3 separate regions of the Homo sapiens genome follow, and regions 2 and 3 are each linked to region 1. Evidence: promoter capture Hi-C in 16 types of primary human blood cells and fetal thymus (Javierre and others, 2016). All regions are on one chromosome and are shown on one strand. Each heading gives the region's core, a stretch centred on a gene start or on the middle of the fragment in contact. The rest is flanking DNA. Distances are from core to core; before and after follow the strand shown. Region 1 holds the start of NCK1 (NCK adaptor protein 1). Region 2 holds the start of IL20RB-AS1 (IL20RB antisense RNA 1). Region 3 has its middle 6.9 kb from the start of STAG1-DT.

The links. Contacts are between HindIII fragments. The CHiCAGO score rates a contact against its expected background, and 5 or more counts as called.
Region 2: the fragment with the promoter of IL20RB-AS1 here is called in contact with the fragment with the promoter of NCK1 in region 1 in 17 of 17 cell types (fetal thymus, total CD4 T cells, naive CD8 T cells and 14 more); the score reaches 19.6 in fetal thymus.
Region 3: a fragment that was not itself captured here is called in contact with the fragment with the promoter of NCK1 in region 1 in 4 of 17 cell types (megakaryocytes, M1 macrophages, neutrophils and 1 more); the score reaches 7.1 in megakaryocytes.

Annotation. Positions count from the first base shown.
Region 1 is chr3:136,860,058-136,864,178 of GRCh38, reverse strand. It overlaps NCK1 (NCK adaptor protein 1), which reads right to left and starts at 1,971. Exons shown (of 4, transcript NM_001291999.2): 1 at 1,826-1,971. It overlaps NCK1-DT (NCK1 divergent transcript), which reads left to right and starts at 2,116. Exons shown (of 3, transcript NR_110177.1): 1 at 2,116-2,432. RefSeq lists enhancers at 1,103-1,222, 1,233-1,312, 2,373-2,432, 2,993-3,042 and a silencer at 1,953-2,012. The HindIII fragment of the contact is 9,923 bases long and covers 1-3,019 here.
Region 2 is chr3:136,980,217-136,984,337 of GRCh38, reverse strand. IL20RB-AS1 (IL20RB antisense RNA 1) reads left to right here and starts at 2,147. Exons shown (of 4, transcript NR_183729.1): 1 at 2,147-2,275. It overlaps IL20RB (interleukin 20 receptor subunit beta), which reads right to left. Exons shown (of 7, transcript NM_144717.4): 2 at 3,746-3,872; 3 at 1,988-2,178. The HindIII fragment of the contact is 2,087 bases long and covers 1,308-3,394 here.
Region 3 is chr3:136,757,471-136,761,591 of GRCh38, reverse strand. No RefSeq gene overlaps it. Among named protein-coding and RNA genes, the nearest start is that of STAG1-DT, 6.9 kb to the right of the region's middle. The HindIII fragment of the contact is 2,023 bases long and covers 1,108-3,130 here.

The DNA of each region.
Region 1 (4,121 bases), core at 722-3,221:
ATGGACCTGAAAGCACTGCAGAAACCTGGACAAAGGATAATGCCTAGAAAAATAAATACACATTTTATTTATTTTTTTGAGACGGAGTCTCGCTCTGTCGCCCAGGCTGGAGTGCAGTGGCGCGATCTCGGCTCACTGCAAGCTCCGCCTCCCGGGTTCACGCCATTCTCCTGCCTCAGCCTCCCGAGTAGCTGGGACTATAGGCGCCCGCCACCACGCCCGGCTACTTTTTTGTATTTTTAGTAGAGACGGGGTTTCACCGTGTCTGCTAGGGTGGTTTCAATCTCCTGACCTCGTGATCCGCCCGCCTCAGCCTCCCAAAGTGCTGGGATTACAGGTTTGAGCTACCCCGCCTGGACTCCCTCAGTATCGAACAAAACATTACACGTAGGTTTCAAATTTTATTTAGATGGACCTGAAAGCACTGTCAAAACCTGGACAAAAGATAATGCCTAGAAAAATAAGTACACATTTTAAAATTTAATACATGAGCCAACAGCTGAGTAGATGTGAACACTCTGCAAACTATGTTTATGGATATTACAGCCAATTTCCACAGATCACAATTTTCCCAAAGAAGTCTCAGAGTTTGTGGTCAAGATGAAAAGAAAGCACCATTTATCAACCAGTGCATATTACTATCAAGTTGTGAATGGGATGCCTATTTAAGAATATCACAGACTCCACCCCCCACAAGAAAATTAAGTGTTTTAAAAAGAAAAGAACGAATATTATTGACAATTACCAAACAAAACTTTCTTCTTAGGTTATTTCTCCGTTTACTGTGTGACCTCGCCGAAGGCTGAGAGTCTAGGCACACTGGTTTCCAGGTGCTGAAGAAATCGTTATAGTTGGTTTGTCATACGTCTATCAAAGTAAAATTTTAAAAATGAGTACCTTTTGGCAACACCCGTTTTGGGAGGACATTGAGCTGCTTTGCTCCCTACCCAAAGAGGAGTTAGGAAATTCTCTTTAACCTAATTCTTTCCTAATTTCTAGGGCTTCTTACCTAATCTAACGTGCATAATTATTTTCAGGTGACTCCGGGTCCATCAGTTTGACACCGAGAGCGTTCCTACGGTTACGTCCTCACCCCTGAACAAAACCCAGCTTCCTGAGCTTCTAACGGCGAATTTAACTTGTATGTTAATACAGAAGAAAGGTTACAAAACCTATCGAAATGGTTTTTTGTTTTACCAAACATATTACAACTCAAGTCAAAAGTTCACAGCCCCAGCAACTCGCGTACGAATCTGAAGCAGGTCCAGACCATTAAAGTCACAGCCCCAGACTAGAAAACGGCCGGTGGGTGGGGGGAGGGGAGAGGGCGCGTCCCGAAGATGTCCACCCGCAGCACCGCGCAGGCTGACGCCTCCCCTCCTCTCGGGCTGGAGGTGAGAGCGCCCTTCCTCCTACCACGTCCCTACCTTCCCGGCCTCGGATTACGCCACAGCTGGCAAAAGGACTTTTTCATGAGAAAACAGACAAGTCAACCAGCGCGCCGCACACTCGACCTCCCAGGCTCGCACGGGCGGCCGCCCGGGCTCTCAGCCCGACACAGCGCTCCAGGGGCTGACAAGGAGGCCGCGGGGTCACGCTCCCTGGGGCAACGGCCCGAGGGTCTCGCGGAATCCCGGTGCAGAAGTCTGGACCCTCCGAGCAGCCTCCGCGCCCCCTCCGGCTCGGCTCCGAGCCTGCAGACGGCGCCCCCGGGGCTAACTCAGCGCGAGAAGAGGAAGCGACGCAGCGAGTAACAGGCTGTATGGACGGACAGCGGACTGAAGGGGGGTGTGTGTGTGTCTGCCTGCCAACAAGGCCGTCTCACCTTCCCGCTGCCGAGCCGGGCAGCTCCAGCTCACCTGAGGAGGGCTCCAGGACGCCACTGCGGCCGCCGTGATGGCCGTAACGGCACGAGGCCTGCGCTCCGCCGCCGCCGCGTAGCTCTTGGGAGAGAGGCGGGGCACGCGCGGTGGGCAGGCGGATCCGCGCGGGCAGGAAACCCACTCTGGACCCAATCTGATAGGTTCAGTCGCCCCCTTCCCCGGTCCCTGACGCGACAACGGTCTCTGCCGCACTGGGATTGGGCGGGCCCTCATGTCAATCAAGCGCCGTGCCTGATGTGGAGGGAGCGGAGGCTGCGCGGCGGAGAGTAGAGAGCTAGAGGGTGAGAAGCGCTGGGCCGGACCAGAACTGTCTTAGCTTTTCCCTCTGCGGCTGCTCTGGTTGGTTACTTTGAGCCTGCCTCCTCAGCGCCGCAGGAGAGACTTAACAGCAAAAATGACTGTGTCCTGAGTTCAGCCCCCACTGCTCTGGGAGCTTCCCCCTGGTTTCTGCACCTGAAGAATGTCATCCCAGCCGAAGGTTCTTAGGAGCGGGGAGCGACAAAGAAAAACAAAGAAAAGCAGACCTGAAAATTGGGACCTGGGAGAAATGTAAGACATGTGCTTAATTTGAGGCACAGACCAAAAGAAGCTGAGTCTGAGGGCCCTCTAAAAGTGTCCTCGTGCTTGGGCAGCTTACATTCTTGGCGGCAGTAGTGTTATGAAGAGGACCTTCGGAGCCAGGTCTGTCCATTCTTAGGGCTCCAGCCACTGGCTGAGGCATCAGTAAGTTGGTTCTTCCCCTCGCCGGTGCTGCAGGCCCCCTTCCCCGCCCCCGCGCCGTAACCTGCCTCTTTTTTTTTTTTTTTTGAAACGAGTTTCGCTCTGTCGCCAGGGTGGAGTGCAGTGGCACGATCTCGGCTCACTGCAACCTCCGCCTCCGGGTTCAAGCTATTCTCCTGCCTCAGCCTCCCGAGTAGCTGGGATTACAGGCATGTACCACCACGCCCAGCTAATGTTTTTGTATTTTTAGCAGTGACGGGGTTTCACCAGGATGGTCTCGATCTCTTGACCTCGTGATTCGCCAGCCTCGGCCTCCCAAAGTGCTGGGATTACAGGCGTGAGCCACCACGCCCAGCCGCCTCATCTCTTCTTAACCATCTTTGTGGCACAGTTTAGGATCGCTCCTCAGGGAAGCTTGCTCAGTTAGGTACCTTCCTTGGAGCACAGGTGTTTTCTCCATCCGAGCTATTGAAATGGTTTGCCTGTATGTCTACCTAGATTGTAAACTCCGTTGAATCAGTAACCATGTCTGTTCAGTTTCTCCCTAGGGCCTTGCAGTAGGGTAGATGGTCAGTAAATACTGTTTAAGGCATTAATACTTTTTATTTTAATCCTGGCCCTGGATATCAGCCTCAAAAGTTTGCAGTTTTCTGCATTTAACTTCAAAATTATTTACGTGATTGGTAATGCATGCATGTGGTTGGCCTGTGCTGTAATTTAGATGTTTGTTCCCCTAAACCTCCTGTTGAAATTTGATCCCCAATGTTGGAGGTGGGGACTAATGGGCAGTGTTGGGTCATGGAGGTGGTTCCTTCAGGAATAGATTAATGTCCTCCCTGGGGAGAGGGTAAATGAGTTCTCTTTATTTCCACCAGAGCTGGTTAAAAAGAACGTCGCACTTCCTTTCTTCTTTTGCGTCCTCTCTGGCCATGTAATCTCTGCACACACCAGCTCTCCTTTGCCTTCTGGCATGAGTAGAAGCAGTCTTAGGCTACCATCAGATGCAGATGCTCAGTCTTGAACTTTTCCAGACATCAGAACCATAAGCCGAAAAACCTTTTCTATTTCTAAATTATCCAGCTTTGGGTATTCCTTTCTAGCAACACTAAAGGGACTAAGACAGCCTGCCATATGTAGGATCACAAGGTCAAGCACAAATTTACCTATTTATGCTGTACTATCCTCAGGTTGACTGGGACAAGTAGACCATGAAACTGGGCAACAGCTACTCTATGTCTACATTCTGTTATTAGCATCCAAAGTGAATAATGGCGGTGAATTTTGAGTTTATTCTAAGGGTTTAAATAACTGCATATTTTATCATGACTGGTATGGACTGAATTGCATCCCCCCCAAAAATTCATACTGAAGCCCTCACTCCTAATGTGACTATATAAATGTTCCTTAACTTACAAAGGGGTTATGTTCCAATAAACCCACCATAAACTGAAAATACCTTAAGTTGAAAAGATCTTAAGTCAGAAATGCATTTAATGCTTCTAACCTACCAAACATCAT
Region 2 (4,121 bases), core at 898-3,397, 120 kb before region 1:
AGGGCCCATCCAGGGGCTTCCTCCAGCCTCTCAGGAGCTGTTCTATTCTCCTTTCCATTATCCTCTACCCTGGTGCCCTTCCCTCCATCCACATTTTAAAGTCTGAGGTTTTCCAGGACCTTGTCCTCTCTTTATCTTCAGCGTCTTGTCCCTAAACAGTCTCGTCTACTTCCAAGCCTTTAGCTGTTAACTTTGTGATGGCCCTGTGCGATGGCTCATTCCTATAATCCCAGCACTTCGTGAGGCTGAGGCAAGAGGATCACTTAAGCTCAGGAGTCCGAGACCAGCCTGGGCAACATGGTGAAACCCCATCTCTACCAAAAATACAAAAAAATTAGTCAGGCATGGTGGCATGTGCCTGTATTCCCAGCTTCTTGGGGGCCTGAGGCAGGAGGATCGCTTGAGCCCAGGAGGGCAAGGCTGCAGTGAGCTGTGTTGGCACCACTGCACTCCAGCCTGGGCAAAAGAGCAAGACTCCACCTCAAAAACAAAACAAACAAACAAACAAAACCACTTTGTGTTATGTATCTGCCTTTGAGCTTTCTAAGCCTCAGGGACTGATTTCCAGCTGCCAGTCAGACATCCACAAGATGACATCTTGTAGAAATCTCAGTCTCAAAGCCGGGGGTGTCTCCTATTCTTCAAGACCAGTTGTTTCCCCCTGGGTTATTTGCCTTAGCTGGTGTTCTCACCAATTCCATTTGACAGCTGAATACTATCATTATCTCTCCCTTTTCTGTCCCCACAAACTTGATTCCTAAGCTCTGTCCTTTCTAAATCAGCCATGTTTCTTGGATTCATCATCTCCTTCCCATCCCCTTCCAAACTCTTGGGATCAGTAGGAGTATTACAACCCCCTCCTCACTCTTCCCCTGTCCTGCAGGCTTGCCCTACTCTGGTTCACTTTCCACACAGCAGCCAGAGTGTTGCTTTGTAAGATAGACCTGGTCGGCCGGGCGCCATGGCTCATGCCTGTAATCCCAGCACTTTGGGAGGCCGAAGTGGGCAGATGACTTGAGGTCAGGAGTTCCAGACCAGCCTGGAAAACATAGTGAAACCCTGTCTCTACTAAAAATACAAAAATTAGCCAGGCATGGTGGTGCACGCCTGTAGTCCCAGCTACTCAGGAGGCTGAGGCAGGAGAATCACTTGAACCCAGGAGACAGAGGTTGCAGTGAGCTGAGATCACGCCACTGCACACCAACCTGGGTGACAGAGTGAGACTCCGTATCAAAAAAAAAAAGAGATAGACCTGGTCTAGATCCTCTCCTCTTTCATTGGCTACCCTCTACTGACTTGGTCAAGCTTCGTGTCAAAGCCCTTCACCACATGATCAACTGCTTCCCTACCCCCTGCCCATCAGCCCTTGCCTCTCCTGTTCCGCAAACACACATGTCCTTTTATACAATGACCAGTGCTTGTACTCAGCCACATTTGGCCACCTATCTGGATTCCTCTATTACTTCTTTCTCAATCCTTTTCCAGGTACTACTCCAAAAGAAAAGTTATTTATTTCCCACAGAAGTCATTACAGAAGGGCAATTTTCTGGTGGCTCTGTTAAGTGTATAAATCCTCTTGCACAACAAAGCTGCTTACGTGGGCAGTAAATATGCAGTTAATGAGGCCTCAAGTGGGAGGCACAATTTATGGAGGCACAATCAGAGTAGGGAGCAGCAGTCCTGGTGCCACCTCTTCACTTCCAGAGCAGCTTTCCTTCCAGGTTCCCAATGTCAGCATCCCCAACACCTGCACACCCTGACACAGACAGTCAGGAATGACTTGAGTAGTCAAAGGGCATGACAGAGAGCAGCATGTAGAAAGCAGTTGGCAATTTTTCAAATATACCAGTAAGGGTTGTTTGTGTTCACAATACTCTGGCTTTGCAGGACTATTCTGATGCTAAAAAGAGTCTAGAAAGTTTAGGTGAACATGGTTCCTAAAGGAGGGGCTGGTTGGGGTGGGAGTGTAAGGAGAGAAGTGCCTTACTTGAGTTTCTATTAAAGGGATGCTTCAGGATGCTCCAGGCTGAGGTCTGTGAGCCCAATGTGGCCCTGACACGAAGGTTGTATGGCACAGTGGCCGTGATGTCATCAGTGACATCACACTCAGGACCTTCAGTGAGTGAGCACCAGCTGCTGGGGATCCAGATGTGGCTCGTGTACAGGCTCTCGTACTCCCTGTCAAAGAGAGGAGGGCACAGAGTTACACCAGCCCCTCTGACACAGGCTCAGTTATGGTTGCAAGTAACTGACTTCGTTCACCTACTTTGTACAGGTAAGTAAAATAAGTACTTTCTCATTATCCTAGCTCCTCCACTCTCCTCCCTACCAACCATCCATCGTCCCTTACTCCTTTTATTGCCAGATAGGGAAAGCTAGGCATAAACATCAATGTGTCTGGATCTCTTTTATCTCTTCATCTCCAGGGTCATCACCCTAATCTCAGCCACTGTCATTCCTTGCCTTGCTGTGATCTCCCAGCTTGGACACCTGCCATTCTCAAAACCATTCACCACTCAGCAGATTGTGACGTTTCTCTCCTTAATGGCTTCCTACAGGACTTAGAATGGGATCCAAACTCTTGCCAGTGGTCTTACAAGATGCTTTGGCCTTCTCTCTCACTCTGCTCCGAAGCGTGATATTCTTGCCACATTGGTCATTTCTCCAAAATGCTGAGCACTTTTTGCCTTAGGACCTTTGACTAACTGTTCACTCCATCTCAAACGCTCTGCCCCTGCTGTTCGCATGGCTGGCTCCTCTTGTCCTTCAGATATGGCATAAATATCACCTCCTCAGAGAGGCCATCCCAGGCCATCTAATATAAAGGAGCCTCAGTGTCAACTCTCTATGGCATCAGCCTTTTAGCTTCCTCCTAGCACTGATTACTATCCAAAATTCCCTAGAGCAGTGCTTTCCAAAAATAAACTTTCTGTGATGATGCAAATATTCTAAATCGATGTTGTTCAATATGGTAACCACTGGCCACATGTGGCTATTGAACACCTAAAATGTGACTAGTGTGGCAGGAAACAGACATTTTAATTTAATTTAATTTAATTTAATTTAATTTAAATTTAAATAGCCAGCTGTGGCTGGTGGCTACCATACTAGAGAATGCTGGCCTAGTATATTTATCATCTGTATCCTCCTCTAGATGTAAGCTCTCAAAATCCAGAAACCTTGTCAACTGTATCCCTGAGCCTAGAAGAATGTCTACACATGTAGGTGTTCAGTCTGTATTCATTGTTAATGAAATATATGGAGCAATTTCTGTGTCCTTATCACTATTCAATAGCTGCAAGCACCTGAACACCTGGAGAAGACTAGAGCCTGCTCAGCCCCAGGGCCAGCTGACCTTTAGGATTATAGTTCGTTTTGGCTCTAGGTATAAGCTTATAGTCAGGAAAAGTGAGGACTCCTCCACCCTTAAAGGATCTGAGTCTCCAGTGATTTATCCATCTCAAGTCAGAGTCAAACCCATTGGACAGTTGATTCACTTTTTAAAATAACTCCACCAAAATGTGTTATGCACATTCATCTTCCCAGAGAGTTCACTGTCAAATCCACAGAACAATTTCCCTTGCTTCTTCAACTCTTTCAATGCCTATGCAGACAGAGGGGGTAGATCTTTGGGGATAATCTATCCCTGGACTCAAAAAGCCACCTTGGGCTCAGGAGGAAGGGCTATGCCTTCAGGAACCAACTTCTGCTTAAGGGAGAAGAACTATTAAAAGAAAAAACTCACCCCTGGTATTCGACAGAATAGTACACTGTTTCTCCAGGCGCGATCACTGGGCTCCACATCAAGAGATGCTTCATGTTGGTTGAGAGTACAGAGAGGTTCTGAGGGGCAGGCAGAATGGCCACTTCATCTAGGATCAAGGCAGATAGCCTGGCTGACAGGTGGGCTCATAGTGGGGGAATGCCATAGCTTCAAATTAGTGTCTAATGAAGGGCCTCACTGGCGGAGGTTGCAGTAAGCTGAGATTGCACCACTGCACTCCAGCCTAGACAACAGAATGAGACTCTGTCTCAAAAAAAAAAAAGCCTCACATGTTTATAAACCAGAAACAACTCTAATTTTATCATGCTTATGTTAACACTAAATTTTGGGTACCACC
Region 3 (4,121 bases), core at 870-3,369, 100 kb after region 1:
CTTACTGCAGCCTTGAATTCCCAGGCTCAGGAGATCCTCCCATCTTAGCCTCCTGAGTACCTGCGACTACAGGTGTGTGCCACCATGCCCAGCTAATTTTTTGTATTTTATTTTTGGAGAACCAGGATTTCACCATGTTTTCCAGGCTGGTCTTGAACTCTCAGGCTCAAGTGATCTGCTACCTCGGCCTCCCAAAGTGCTAGGATTACAGGCGTGAGCCACTCTGCCCAGCCCGTTTGTGATCTAAATATGAAGCAAAGATATTTGGGCAATTGTTAATAAGGGAAGATAATCCATTTGATCCTGATGCTTTCTATATTTTCCTTTGAGTGGTTTTCTAGTGGTTTTCACGGTGGTTCAGTGGTTCTGTAAAAGAGAAGATGTAATCCTAGCACACTCCTTAGTCTGGAAGTTGGCTATTAACTGTGTCAACCTATGGACAAAACACAAAAGACTTCTTGTGTTTAAGGGAGGTGAGAAAAAGGTGTGAAGGAAGAATGGTGGTGTTAATAGTGGAGAGTTGTAATACTACCTAAAGTTGAAATGTTATCTAGTGTTTTATCTTGTATTATTCAGAGTTACAAAGAAGCGTGGTGGCTCATGCCTGTAATACCACCACTTTGGGAGGCTGAGGCAGGCAGACCACCTGAGGTCAGTTTGAGAGAAGCCTGACCAACATGGTGAAACCCCGTCTTCACTAAAAATATAAAAATTAGCTGGGCATGGTGGCCCACACCTGTAATCTCAGTTACTCAGGAGGCTGAGGCAGGAGAATTGCTTGAACCTGGGAGGAAGAAGTTGCAGTGAGCCAAGATCATGCCACTGTACTCCAGCCTGGGCAACAGAGGGAGACCGTGTCTCCAAAAAGGAAAAAAAAAAAAAAAGTTACAAAGAAAACCAACAAAAGACGCAAACTTAATGCAACTGTTAAATATTGGACCAGTGGGTATTAACATAATCTTTATCCTTTGTAGCAGGGAGTCATTAGATTTTATTTAAAGTTGAATGAGCATATTTAGAAATATTGAAGTAATTCCAAACAAACAAAAACATGTAAAAGATGTTGTCCTTGGGCAGTGGCCCTGGCGGTAGAGTTAGGATGAAGCTTGGTTGCTTTTCAACGTTATGTTTTTTTGTCCTGTTTGATATGTTACAATTTATTTTGTATCCTTTAATTTGTTGCCATTGTGCATTTCTTTTACAGAAAATAAAATTAGAGGCTGGTTTTTCTGCCTATATGGAAACAATGTTTTAGATAGCTATTCTATCAAGAATGATTCCCAGGCCGGGGTGCAGTGGCTCACGCCTCTAATCCCAACACTTTGGGAGGCCGACGCCAGCAGATCACCTGAGGTTAGGAGTTTGAGACCAGCCTGGCCAATATGGTGAAACCCTGTCTCTACTAAACATACAAAAATTAGCTGGGTGTGGTTGTGTGCACCTGTAATGCTAGCTACTTGGGAGGCTGAGACAGGATAATCGCTTGAACCCGGGAGGCGGAGGTTGCAGTGAGCCAAGATCATGCCACTGCACTCCAGTTTGGGTAACACAGCAAGATTCCGACTTTAAAAAAAAAAAAAAAAGGATGATTCCTCAAAGTAGTCCAGGCCTCATACAGGTCTTTTGAAATAAGCCATAAAGTGGAATCCCAAGGACATCAAGAAACTTGGACTAAGAAAACGGTTGTTCTACTGGCACTTGAGTCTCTAAATAATAATAACTCTTAGCTCCTACCCACACTAGTTCCAGCCCTCTGCCTGTGAGTTTTTTTTTTTTTTTTTTTTGAGATGGAGTCTCGCTCTGTCACCCAGCCCGGAGTGCAGTGGCATGATCTCGGCTCACTGCAAGCTCCGCCTCCCGGGTTCACACCATTCTCCTGCCTCAGCCTCCCAAGTATTTGGGACTACAGGAGCCTGCCACCACGCCCAGCTAATTTTTTGTATTTTTAGTGGAGACGGGGTTTCACCGTGTTAGCCAGGACGGTCTCGATCTCCTGACCTTGTGATCCGCACCGCCTTGGCCTCTCAAAGTTCTGGGTAAGGATTACAGGCGTGAGCCACCGCGCCTGGCCAAAATTTCTTTTTAAAAAAATATCTGAGCAATTCCGATCCTCTGCTTTTTGAGAATAGAGTTTTGCCTATAACCAGGTTACTGATTCTGAAAGGGAAGGTATTCTGGATCCCTCTTACCATCTTATTACCAAGAACGGGGCAGAATTTATTGATTTAGTTATACATCTGTCTGTCTGCCTATCTGAGAAAGGGTCTTGCTGTGTCACCCAGGCTGGAGTGCAGTGGCATGATCATGGCTCACTTAAGTGATCCTCCCATCTCAGTCTCACAAGTAGCTGGGACTACAGGTGTGCGCCATCCTGCCCAGCTAATTTTTTATTTTTTATACAGATGGGGTCTCCCTATGTTGCCCAGATTGGTCTTGAACTTCTGGCCTCAAAAGATCTGACTGCCTCAACCTCCTAAAGTGCTGTGATTACAGGTGTGAGTCACTGGGCCTGGCTGCTTGCTCAGTTGTAGAAAGAATAGTGTTTTTAGGCTGGGCGCGGTGGCTCACGCCTGTAATTCAAGCACTTTGGGAGGCCGAGGCAGGCGGATCACCTAAGGTCAGGAGTTTGAGACCAGCCTGGCCAACATGGTGAAGCCCTGTCTCTACTAAAAATACAAAAATTAGCCGGGCATGGTGGCAGTCACCTGTAATCTCAGCTATTCGGGAGGCTGAAGCAGGAGAACTGCTTGAACCCAGGAGGCGGAGGTTGCAGTTTGCTGAGATCGCGCCATTGCACTCCAGCATGGGCAATAGAGTGAGACTCTGTCTCCAAAAAGAAAAAAAATTAAAAAAAAAAAGGAAAAATAATGGTTTAAATCCAGTAGGGAGGACACCATGGCATATTACTGCCACCAATTGGCAGCACACCTTAATTGCAAGAGTAGAAAAGAAGGGAAAATTATTTCTGATAATTGCAAAGGTCTACCAACGTAAGAAAGAACAAATGCCTTGTGACCAAGTGAAAAATGCAAAGGAATACTTGATTTGGGGGAGATTAAGATGAGACAGTGGTCATGATCCCTGAAACACAGGGTTTGTGGAGGTGGTAAAAATGAAGGGTGAGGAAGCTTGATCAGAAGACCTCTCTTTGCTCTAGATATCGAGCAGTTGCACTTGGAACTCTGAAAAAGGGGAAGGAAAGGGAAGAATGACGAATCAAATTTTACTTTTCTTTTTTTTTTTGAGACGGAGTCTCACTCTGTCAGCCAGGCTGGAATGCAGTGGCGCAATCTTGGCTCACTGCAATCTCTGCCTCATGGGTTTAACCGATTCTCTTGCCACCTGCCTCAGCCCCTCGAGTAGCTGGGATTACAGGTGTGCGCCACCACGCCCGGCTAATTTTTGTGTTTTAGTAGAGATGGGGTTTCACCATGTTGGCCAGGCTGGTCTCAAACTCCTGGCCTCAAGTGATCTGCCCACCTTGCCCTCCCAAAGTGCTGGGATTACAGGCATGAGCCACCGCGCCCGGCCCAAATTTTACTTTAAAAATCCTTTCTGTGTAAGAAATATCACCATTATCCTCACGCAAAAAAAGTTGATTTAATGTGTCTTACTCTAACTGTAAGGCCAATAGAATAACTGAAATCTTTTGTGTGCTAAAATTATCCAGAGAGAAAAAGACATAAGTCTGGCCCAAATTTTAAAGAAACTGTGCAATCTACACAATCAGAAACTCATTCTTTGGGTTATAAAGCAAAGTTCTTCATGTTATTGGTTAATAAATGTTAATTAGAACTAATGCATTTTCAGAAACACAATTTGGTATATTTGCAAGGAAAACAAGAAAAGCAATCTAAAGCTCCCAGTAAAACAACACTATATAAAAATCTTTTAAACTATTGCAACCCCTGTTCAATGTCTTCCCATTTCATAGGCTATAGAATGCATTTTTTTTTCTATTTATAACATTAAATATCTACTTTTGGACCAGGTTGGCTAAGAGATTGAGTTGAATTAAAGTTCTGATGGGCATGTGTCTGAAGAATTACATTATTTTTCATATCGTAGGGGTGAAGGGAAAACTTTTATATGTAATAACAAAGGGAAGTTTTCCCTCTGCT